Linked DNA regions of Homo sapiens: region 2 is linked to region 1. The links are contacts of gene promoters, found by promoter capture Hi-C in blood cells and fetal thymus (Javierre and others, 2016). All regions are on one chromosome and are shown on one strand. The core of a region is centred on a gene start or on the middle of the fragment in contact, and the rest is flanking DNA. Distances in the headings are between cores, read along the strand shown. Region 1 holds the start of PPAT (phosphoribosyl pyrophosphate amidotransferase). Region 2 has its middle 5.2 kb from the start of SCFD2.

What was found. Contacts are between HindIII fragments. The CHiCAGO score rates a contact against its expected background, and 5 or more counts as called.
Region 2: a contact is called between a fragment that was not itself captured here and the fragment with the promoter of PPAT in region 1, in 1 of 17 cell types (neutrophils). The highest score is 5.0, in neutrophils.

What each region holds. Positions count from the first base shown.
Region 1 is chr4:56,433,511-56,439,031 of GRCh38, forward strand. It overlaps PPAT (phosphoribosyl pyrophosphate amidotransferase), which reads right to left and starts at 2,105. Exons shown (of 11, transcript NM_002703.5): 1 at 1,840-2,105. The coding sequence starts at 1,967. PAICS (phosphoribosylaminoimidazole carboxylase and phosphoribosylaminoimidazolesuccinocarboxamide synthase) reads left to right here and starts at 2,750. Exons shown (of 9, transcript NM_001079524.2): 1 at 2,750-2,818. The coding sequence starts at 2,803. RefSeq lists enhancers at 1,810-1,989, 2,837-3,720 and silencers at 2,080-2,279, 2,420-2,709. The HindIII fragment of the contact is 7,763 bases long and covers 1,378-5,521 here.
Region 2 is chr4:53,368,705-53,373,917 of GRCh38, forward strand. No RefSeq gene overlaps it. Among named protein-coding and RNA genes, the nearest start is that of SCFD2, 5.2 kb to the left of the region's middle. The HindIII fragment of the contact is 4,265 bases long and covers 1-3,402 here.

The DNA of each region.
Region 1 (5,521 bases), core at 855-3,354:
CCTCTTTTTCTTCAGGCACACATTTAAAGGGAAGGAGAAAGGGGGATGAAAATTTCTTGAATAACTTTGGCAAAAAAAGTAAATATAGTGAAGTACAGTTCATACATATTTTCTACAGACCACCAGGCAACCCTAAAGACCTCTAGATTCTCCCTCACCCCCATGACAGAGTATCCAAAATAACAACTGTTTTTTTTTTTTTGAGACGGAGTCTCGCTCTGTCGCCCAGGCTGGAGTGCAGTGGCGTGATCTCTGCTCTCTGGAACCTAAGCCTCCCGGGTTCAAGCGATTCTCCTGCCTCAGCCTCCGGAGTAGCTAGGACTACAGGAGCGCATCACCACACCCAGCTAATTGTATTTTTAGCAGAGATGGGGTTTCACCATGTTGGCCAGGATGGTCTCGATCTCTTAACCTCGTGATCCGCCCGCCTCGGCCTCCCAAAGTGCTGGGATTACAGGCGTGAGCCACCGCGCCTGGCCATAGTTTCTAAGAATGTTACAAACTAATGTTGCTCACAACTACCACATAATCAAGAGTTTACTTTCTCCTTGGATTACGTAACTAATTTTCTCAATAAACTTTTTTTAAAAAAAACAAGAAATCTATTATGGTCAACCCACAATTATCCAAGATTGGAGCTACGCAAGTTAAAAATATTCTTTTTGATGCTTCCCACATTCTCAGCTCTTTAGTAAACAAGGAACACACAAAATGTGAAACTGAAATTGAAGTACCTGGGACAATGAAAACAGCAAAAAATACTTCTAATTTAAGTTTGGTGGAGGAAAAGCTAATCTTTTGGAATGCGTTTATACGTGTTGCACCCATTTTGCTGTTACGTGTTATTGCCAAGTTCCTTAACTGTAGTGTAAGTTGTTACCACTGTATTGCCTTATGGAAACTGTAATACTTTCAGTAAGAATATCAAACCCAGGTTTGTTTTTCTTATCCTAGTGTAATAATTTATATCAACTTCCAGTTAAGTCAGGTAGTAAGAAAAGGAAAGATCACCGAAGCAAAGTAATTTTTTTTAACTCGAAAGGATCTCCCAATTTTTCAAAATCAAGTGTATGGATCTTGGCATAGAGACACTACTCCCCTGTCCCCCTTTTGAAGAAGGGAGTTAATTTTTGTCATGTTATTACCAACGTTTTCATTCATTAGGCAAGACGTCTACCAATGAATCTTTTCCAGATGCACTGTTCCCTATGGTTGGCTTATTTCCATTTAATTTATGTGAGATCTACTACCAGTAGTCATTCTCAACATCAACTAGTCATCTTTCCCTGGGTCTGAAGTCTAGCATCCTCAAGTTCCCATAGCGATAACTACTTTCAAACCCATAATCTGCTCAATAGCTCTGCCCTTGCAAACAAAAGCTTGTGGTGGTTGGAGGCCCCGCGCGAAAACCTTTAGGTGTTGAAGGACCTGGACTGGCCGCCACGCCACACTAGCCTATTACAGGAGCAGCCACAGGCTCCGGGAGACTAGAACCCGCCTGCAGTCGGGGAGGAGCCCTGACCCAGCTAGACCAAGCAAACCGGCGGTTTACAAGCTGGCCAGCCTCTGGATGGGTGCACACACCGGGGGGCGGGGAGGGAGAGAGCCCCTAAAAGGCATAAGTGGCTGGGAGGGTGGGCAGGACAGGCTAAAGTTCATGGAAGCGAGGTGCCCCTCGTGCACGCCTAGGCAACCCGGTCGACGCCACAGGCAGGTACTGGCTTAGGTCGGAGAGGTCGGTCCTCCCGGGCCCTCGGGCGCTCATGAGAACGCCGACTGCGGGAAGCGGCTCCGAGAGATGGAGACGCACGCCCCCGCCACCCCCACCCTGTTGCTCACCGGTGCTGCAGCCCCACGAGTCCCAGAGTGATCACATGCGGTACATCCAGCTGCGTGGGCCACTCTCCTGAGGCGATGCACCCGAACACGCCACATTCCTCTCGGATCCCCAACTCCTCCAGCTCCATGTCGCCGCCGAAAGCACGTGGAAGGACCTGCCGCTGCGGCCAAGGTGTAAGCACCAACCAGCTGCCAGCTCGGCCCGTCGAGCTCAGAAGCTCGCGCTCGCGACAGGCTCTTCCTTCCCGAGGGTGGCCCCAGCTACTGCGGCGGCGCGCGCTGTCCCTAGGTGGCGTGGCCAGCTCAGCCCTGCTCCTCCCCCTCCGAGTCCACCAACGAGCGAGGGCGGAGGGGCGGTCCCGCGGCTGAGGGGCGGGGTCACGGATGCTGTAGGGTGGAGCTAGCCTTCCCCTAAGAGCTGCCTGGAAAGCTGTATTTGCTGCACGTGGAAATCTCCGTTATTTTCCAGCACCCAACAGTAGCGTAATGGGAGTAACGGACTTAACCTCATTTCTCTTTCAGAGCATTTAGCCTTCATATGCCCTTCCCTGCATGCTTCCCCCAGGCCGTCAAGACTTGGTACGCTCCAACTTCTGAGTCGCTCCCGCAGCCGAGAAGGGGCCGGGGTATGCGAGCTTCCGCAGAGTGGGGAGGGGCCGCCAGTGCGCGCCACTTTTCGCCTGTCCGGGCACTGCGCCAGCGCGGGGCGGCCCGGAGGCGGGGTCGCGTCTCTGCGCCTGCGCGGCGGGAAGCCAGTGGGGCGTTGTTTCGTCCGATATCCGCGTTTCAGTCTCCGCCCATACCCCTCCGGGTTAGGCGGCTGTAGCGGAGCTCGAAAAGAGTGGCGCAGGGTCGCGCGGCCCCGCCTCCTTCCCCGCCCAGCGAAGCTCTCTGACCACCCCTCTTTTCTAGAGTTCTGCCTCGCTTCCCGGCGCGGTCGCAGCCCTCAGCCCACTTAGGATAATGGCGACAGCTGAGGGTGAGTAACAGGGATCCGGGCCCTTCACGGTCTCCCTGACCCCCAGGCCGTGAGCTCGCGGCCACGTGCGAGCCGCGAAACTCTGTCCCGCCTCCCTGCAGCAGCGCCTCTAGGCAGCCGCGCGGGCGCACACGTGGCCCAGGCGCTCCCGGGCCTCCCCGAACTTTACTGCCTCGGGGATGGGGAGAAGGAGCAAAGTAGAGGAGAACGAGAAATGGCCAAGGGGTGGAAAGGTGCCTGGAAGTATTATTTATAATCAATAGCTATTGCAAAATACAAGCAAATCAGTCTTGATTCGTCAAAACCTGAGTCTTGCTTTGCCCGTTAGGTTAATGACCTTTCTAAGAAGGTTAATAATTGAAACTTTTGAAAGACCTGTCTAGAGGCCGGGCCTGGTGGCTCACGCCTGTAATCCCAGCACTTTGGGAGGCCAAGGCGGGCGGATCACCTGAGGTCAGTAGTACGAGACCAGCCTGGCCAACATGGCGAAACCCCGTCTCTTACTAAAAATACAAAAAATTAGCTGGACGTGGTGGCGCGCGCCTGTAATCCCCAGCTACTCAGGAGGCTGAGGTAGGAGAATCGCTTGAACCCGGAGGCGGAGGTTGCAGTGAGCCGAGATCGCGCCATTGCACTCCAGCCTGGGCGACAAAGCGAGACTCCGTCTCAAAAAAGAAAAAGAAAAACCTGTCTAGGGGGCGTGTGTGTAAGTAGTCTTTGATGCCATGGTGTGTGTGTGTGTGTGCACGCGCGCGTGAAGTAGTCTTTGATGCCACGATAGCTTGGGGTGTGTGTACGTGCGTGTGCGTGTTTAAGTAGTCTTTGATGTCATGGGTGTGTATGTGTGTGCGCGCGCGTGTTGAAGTAGTCTGATTCCATGATGGCTGGGGAGGGGGGCTGTTTTTAGGTAGTCTTTGATGCCATGATGGTGTGTGTGTGTGTGTGTGTGTGTGTGTGTGTGTGTGTGTGTTCGTTCCAGTAGTCTTTGATGCCACGATGGCTTTGAAGAACTCCAAAACCTTTAGGCAAAAAAGTTGCACTATCAGGAAAGATTGTTCTTGCTATTTATGCTGGAAAAAAACAAATGCTGGTTTTTTCCACACACCCAGTTGCTATATGTATAGTGAGGCAAATTGCTTTTGTGGCTGCTGGGTACATTCTTTTCCACATAGAAAGTAACTGAATTCAGATTTTAAAAAGCTGTAGACTCAGGCCGGGCGCTGTGGCTCACGCCTGTAATCCCCAGCACTTTGGGAGTCCCAGGCGGGCGGATCACGAGGTCAGGAGATCGAGATCATCCTGACCAACATGGTGAAACCCCGGCTCTACTAAAAATGCAAAAATTTGCTGGACGTGGTGGCGTATGCCTGTAATCCTAGCTACTCGGGAACCTGAGGCAGGAGAATCACTTGAACCGGGGAGTCAGAGGCTGCAGTGAGCCGGGATCGCGCCACTGCACTCCAGCCTGGCGACAGAGAGAGACTCTGTCTCAAAAAAAAAAAAAAAAAAAAAAAAAAGCTGTAGACTCAGCAAAAAAGATTCAGATGATATTGAGTATCAACTCCCTAGAATCAAGGCAAGGACCAGAATTTTTCTTGCAATCATGGTACCTGTACCTCTAAAATGGCAAATCTCTAAAATCTTTGCTCTTCCACTTCTTTCCATTTGTGTACCGTTGGCAGGTTGATTTTTCTTAAATGTCACTTTTATGGTCTCTAAAAGGCAAAAGTGGCAACAAAGGCAAAAATGGCATCTCTAGAGATGTTAAATCCAGTCTGTCCAGTCTGAAATCCCTTTTCATTCAAATCCTGAATACTGCTATCCCTTCTACCTCTTCAGCCCTAACTTTGATTTTTCTCTCCTGTGAATCCTTAGCTATGTTCCAGTCAGGTTAATTCACCAAAGTTTGTTTTTCATTATATACATTTTATTTATATTATTTTTCCCAGAACATTGCTGGCTAATGGAAATATAATGTAAATTTGTCTTCTATAAGCCACATTTTAAAAAGTAAAATAATAAAAAAAACTGGTGCAATGTGTTTATATATATATATATATATATATATATATATAAAAGGTTTTTTTTGTTGTTGTTTTTTGTTTGTTTTGCTTTGTTTTTGAAATGGAGTCTCGCTCTGTGTGGCCCAGGCTGGAGTGCAGTGGCAAGATCTCAGCTCACTGCACCCTCCACTTTCCAGGTTCAAGTGATTCTCCTGCCTCAGCCCCCCAAGTAGCTGGGATTACAGGCACACTCCACCACACCCGGCTAATTTTTTTTTGTATTTTTTAGTAGAGTCAGGGTTTTGCCATGTTGGCCAAGCTGGTCTCAAACTCCTGACCTCAAGTGATCTGCCTGTCTCAGCCTCCCAAAGTGCTGGGATTACAGGCGTGAGCCCATTTTAATATATTTTATTTAACCCTATATACACAAAATACATTTCAACATGGAGTCAAGATGAAAAATTCTTTAGATATTTTACAATTTTTTATATCGAATGCAGTATATATTTTAACAAATGACATTTCAACTTGTAATAGCCACATTTCTAGTGGCTGCCTTATTGGACAGCAGAGTCCTAGAATTTTCTTATCCTTTGTGTAAATTCTGTGCTTTCCCAGACTCTTAAATTTCAATTCCATGAATCATTTTCAGTCCTCATCAATCTTTCCAGAATTCATCTACAAATTTGTAGCAACCATT
Region 2 (5,213 bases), core at 20-2,519, 3.1 Mb before region 1:
CAACTCCCCATTCCCCCTCTCCACAGTCCTTGGTGACTTCCACTCTACTTTCTGTTTCTATGAGTTGACTACTCTAGTTGTTGGCAATGTAGTAGTTGACTACTCTAGATACCTCATATAAGTGGAACAATACAGTATTTGTTTTGTTGTGATTGACTTATTTCACTTAGCATAAAGTCCTCCAAGTTAATCTATATTGTAACGTGCATCAGAATTTTCTTTCTTTTTGAGGCTGAATAACATTCCATTGTATGTTACACCATTTTGTTTATCCATTCATCTGCCTATGGACATTTGGTCTGCTTCCACCTTTTAGCTATTGTGAATAATGGCACCTTGAATATGCAGCAGAAGAGTCATAAACCTGGTAGAACCTAGTAGGTAAAAGGGCCAATGACAGACCCAAGTTCAAATGTTGAACTAGTAAACAAGAAGATATTCCTACATGTTTGTATCCTTGTCAGCATGAAAATTATTTTAAGGAGCTTAAGTTGAATAAGTTGTTGGATGACAGCCCTTGCTCTTCCATTTAAACCCAGGTCAGTGCCTAGTTACTAACACCTGCATTAATCTTGATCTCAAGCTCACTTTTTGTTTCTACCCCTTGCATCTCATGCTGAATCATACATTCATTAGGTAAGTTTGAGTGAATTAATACTTCATCTTCTCTGAAAGGGCAAGGCACTCATGAAGTCATGGTTGAATATTGTGCCAGTAAGTGCTAGTGGTCGCCTCAATATTTATTTGTCTCTTCTTCTGTAGTAATAGGTTTATTCTGAACTCATAGACACACAGCTAAAGACTACTTTTCCAAGCCTCTTGCAGCTAGCTATGGACAAATGATGAGGCACGGGTGAATAAGATAGTTGGAAGTGACACATACAGATTTCAAATAATTCCCTAAAGGTGTATGGTTTTCTTTCCCTACAAATCCTACTTTCAGTTCTTTTGTACATGGACCCAGAGTGGAATTGCTGGATCATATGATAATTCTATTTTTAACTTCTTGATGGACCTCTGTTTTTGTTTTGTTTTTTACAGAGGCTGCAACATTTTATATTCCTACTAATAATGCACAGGGGTTCGGATTTCTCCACATCCTTGCCAACACTTGATATTTCCTGGGTTTTTTGATAATGGCCATCCTAATAGGTGTGGGGACATGAGGTTTTCAATATGCTTGTGGGACATCGAGGCAGAAACATCTAGCATGCTGTTGGATGTGTGATTCCAGAATACAGAAGAGAAATATGGTAATTGGGATTATTAGTAAATGGGTGTGCTTCAGAGTGCCTTAAGAGAACACAAAAAAGAAAGAAGACAATGATGGTGATGGAGAGAACTCTGAGCAACTTTTCTTGATGGGCAGAAGAAGTCAAGCCAGTGAATGGAGTAATGAGAGGTGCAAGTTTTAAGACTAGAGTGGCCAACAGTGGCAAGTGTCAGAAAAGGGAAAAGAGAGGGAATATGAGAAGAATCTACAGGATTTGACCTGTGCAGGAAGAAAGTACAGTCATGACAAGGGAGTGCTGGGGGTGCAGTGCAGAATGAGTCAATGGATTGGGGAAAATGCAGCTTCTAGAAATTATCTACACAGTTCCTAGAAAAGAAGGTGGTAGGGGAATGAGGAGGTAAAAAAGTTGGAAGAATATGAAGTTAGGGTCAAAGAAAGTAACTTGGCCTCTACGATTCAGGGAGGGAACGCTTTTTTTTTTTTTTTTTTTTTTTTTTTCAGAGACAGAGTCTCACTCTGTCTCACAGGTTGGAGTGCAGTGGCACAATCATAGCTCACAGCAGACTCAAACTCCTGACTTCAAGCAATCCTCCGGCCGCAGCCTCTTGAGTAGCTAGGACTACAGGTGCACACAACTACACATGGCTAATTTTTTTTTTTTTTTGAGATGGAATCTTGCTCTGTCCCCCAGGCTGGAATGCAGTGGCACAATTTCACTGCTCACTGCAAGCTCCGCCTCCAGGGTTCACACCATTCTCCTTCCTCAGCCTCCTGAGTAGCTGGGACTACAGGCACCTGCCACCACGCCTGGCTAATTTTTTGTATTTTTAGTAGAGACAGGATTTCACTGCGTTAGCCAGGATGGTCTCGATCTCCTGACCTCGTGATCAGCCCACCTCGGCCCCCCAAAGTGCTGGGATTACAGGCGTGAGCCGTTGTGCCCGGCCAGCTAATTTTTTTCTTTCATTTTTTTTTTTACAGAGACAGGGTCTTGCTGTGTTGCCCAAGCTGGCTTGAACTCCTGGGCTCAAACCATATTCTGACCTTGGCTTCCCAAAGCACTGGGATTACAGGTGTGAGCCACTGCGCCCAGCCAAGGAGGGAAAAATTCTAGGATATAATAAGATCCAGGGTATAACCCTGAATGTGCCCTAAGGAAGTAGAGTGAATGAAGACCATTAGACTCCAGAAGGTCAGAAAACATGAGTCAAGCAACATATGCAAGTCACACATCATGATGGAGGAAAGGAAGACTGTGGACTTCAACCGCAGATATCACTTGTAGTTGAAGGAAAATGAAAAAGGAGAAGAGGTGGTAAATACAAATGGTATGAGCTGGAAAAGAGGAAGGTTTTTTCACAGCAAAATGGGAACCGTAATGGCCTGGTAGTGGTCCACAAGAACCGGGGGAATGACAGCACTATCTCAAGCATTCACAGTACAACAGGGTGAAGGATAATGGCAGATATTCAGTATAGAAAGATAAGGAGAAGTCCTGTCCTTGGAGGGAAGTTAGATTTTGGTTTAGTGAACAAGTAGAGACATCCTTCTGCTAAAATACTGAAACTGTTGGGCATGCACATAAAATGGAACAAAGGTAGGGACTGAGAGCTAAATGCAGAGTTGGGGATCAGGTCTGGAAGAACTTGGAGGGAATAAGCACAGAGACTGTCTTAGTTTGGGCTGTCACAACAAAAATACCATAGACTGGGTGACATAAGCAAAGAAAGTTTATTTCTCACTGTTCTGGAGACTGGAAAGTACAAAATCAAGGTGCTCACATAATTCATTTCTAATGGCAGCCCTCTCTCTGGCTCACCAATGGCTGGCCACCTTTGTGCTGTATTCTCAGTTGGTGAAAAGCAGGCAGAGAGGAAGCAAGCTCTCCTGTCTTTTCTTATGAAAGTCCAAACCCCTCTCCATTAGGGAGGACTTAATTACCTCACAAAATCCCCATATCCAAACACCATCACATTGAGGATTAAGGTTTAGGCATATGAACTTTGGAGAAACACAAAAATTTAGACTATAGCAGTGATATGAGGGAAAACATTAAAAGATTTGACAAATGATGACTAAGAATGAGGTGATACAGACACCCCTAAAAGTTGTGCAATGCAGAGCCTGTATAGCCACATGCAACTTGAGGGACTGTCAGACCGTGAAGAAGCTTGTAGGCCATATGGTAGGAAGTTTAGATTTTATTTCATATTTAAGAGAAGGCCACGGAAGGGTTTTGTGTTCCTAGAATTTCAGTGTGGCAGTGCAGATGGAAAGAAGTAGATAGATTTGAGATACGTTTTAATGAGAAGCACTAACAGATCTTGCTAACTGATTTGCATAGTTGTGAGAAGAGCAGATGGGGAAGACAGAAAAGTCAAGGATAATTCTTTGATTTATGGCTAAAACAACTAGTTAAATGGTGGTTACTGATATTAATATGAAGAAGTCTTTGGGAGTATGGGAGTGGGACAAGACAGATATGGGAGAGAAATTTATAAGTTGTGTTTTGAACATAAGTTTTAAAGGCCTAAGAGAGGCATCAGGTGAAGCATTTGAGTCAGACCGAGTATCTTGAGCTCAAAGAGAAGTTAAGACTGCCCAGAGAAATATGGGTGTCAGTGGCTCTCAATGACATGACATTAAAAGTCATGGAGGCCAGGCGTGGGGCTCAGACCTGTAATCTCAGCACTTTGGGAGGCTGAGGTGGGCAGAACACTTGAGGTCAGGAATTCGAGACCAGCCTGGTCAACATGGTGAAACCTCATCTCTACTAAAGATACAAAAATTGGCTGGGCATGGTGACATGAACCTGTAATCCCAGCTACTGGGGAGGCTGAGGCAGGAGAATTGTTTGAACCTGACAGGGGGAGGTTGTAGTGAGCCAAGATCATGCCACTGCACTCCAGCCTGGGTGACAGAGTGAGTCTCCGTCTCAATAAATAAGTAAATACATACATACATATGTACATAAATAAAAGTCATGAAGCTGGAGGAAATGACTTGGGAGACAGGGTGGACAGAAAAGGTAGGAGAGCCCAGGCAAAAGTCATTTCTTGCTTTCAGATGTTATGGTGGAGTAAAATGAATTCCTATTAAAATGACCTGCTTAAGACCGTCATGTTTATTTTATTAAAATGTGATTTGTATTTCTCTGCTCAAAATAGTCAGCTATTGTTTCTCTTCTGTCCAAAATCCAACATATCTCTCTTCACCTCATTTCTAGGTCATCCATAGGCATGATCAGTTCTTAGCTTAAGAACTTTCCATGTACTTGATGTTGTAAGAGAGGACCTGGCAAATACAGAAATAAAACGATTTTGTTCTCACCTTTAAAAAGAGTATGCGAAGTTTACTGACAGCACAGACATGAATAGGAAATAATACAATTTTCCAGAAACAACTAGCAATAGAAAATTTATTTTTTCTTTTTTGATGAGCTAAACTTAGGACTAGGTAAAGTTTATTGTTAAAAGATGTCAGGATGTAGAGGAAGATGGCTAATTGGGGTTTAATTTATCATGGAAGTACATAAAGAGGAAGGAAAGCTCTACACACGTACAATTACTTTGCTTGTTCAAAGAAGAAAAGTCCTAAACAACATGTTACCTGCTTGTCAATAACTTGTCAAATGCTTTGACTTTTTTTTTTTTTTGAGACGGAGTCTTGCTCTGTCGCCCAGGCTGGAGTGCAATGATGGGATCTTGGCTCACTGCAACCTCCTCCTCCTGGGTTCAAGCGATTCTTCTGCCTCAGCCTCCTGAGTAGTTGGAATCACAGGTGCGTGCCACAATGCCCAGCTAATTTTTGTGTTTTTAGTAGAAACAATGTTTCACTATGTTGAGCAGGCTGGTCTTGAACTCCTGACCTCAGGTGATCCGCCTGCCTCGGCCTCCCAAAGTGCTGGGATTACAGGCGTGAGCCACCGTGCCTGGCTAGATGCTTTGACATTTGAAACCTCAATTTAGCTTTGTTATTC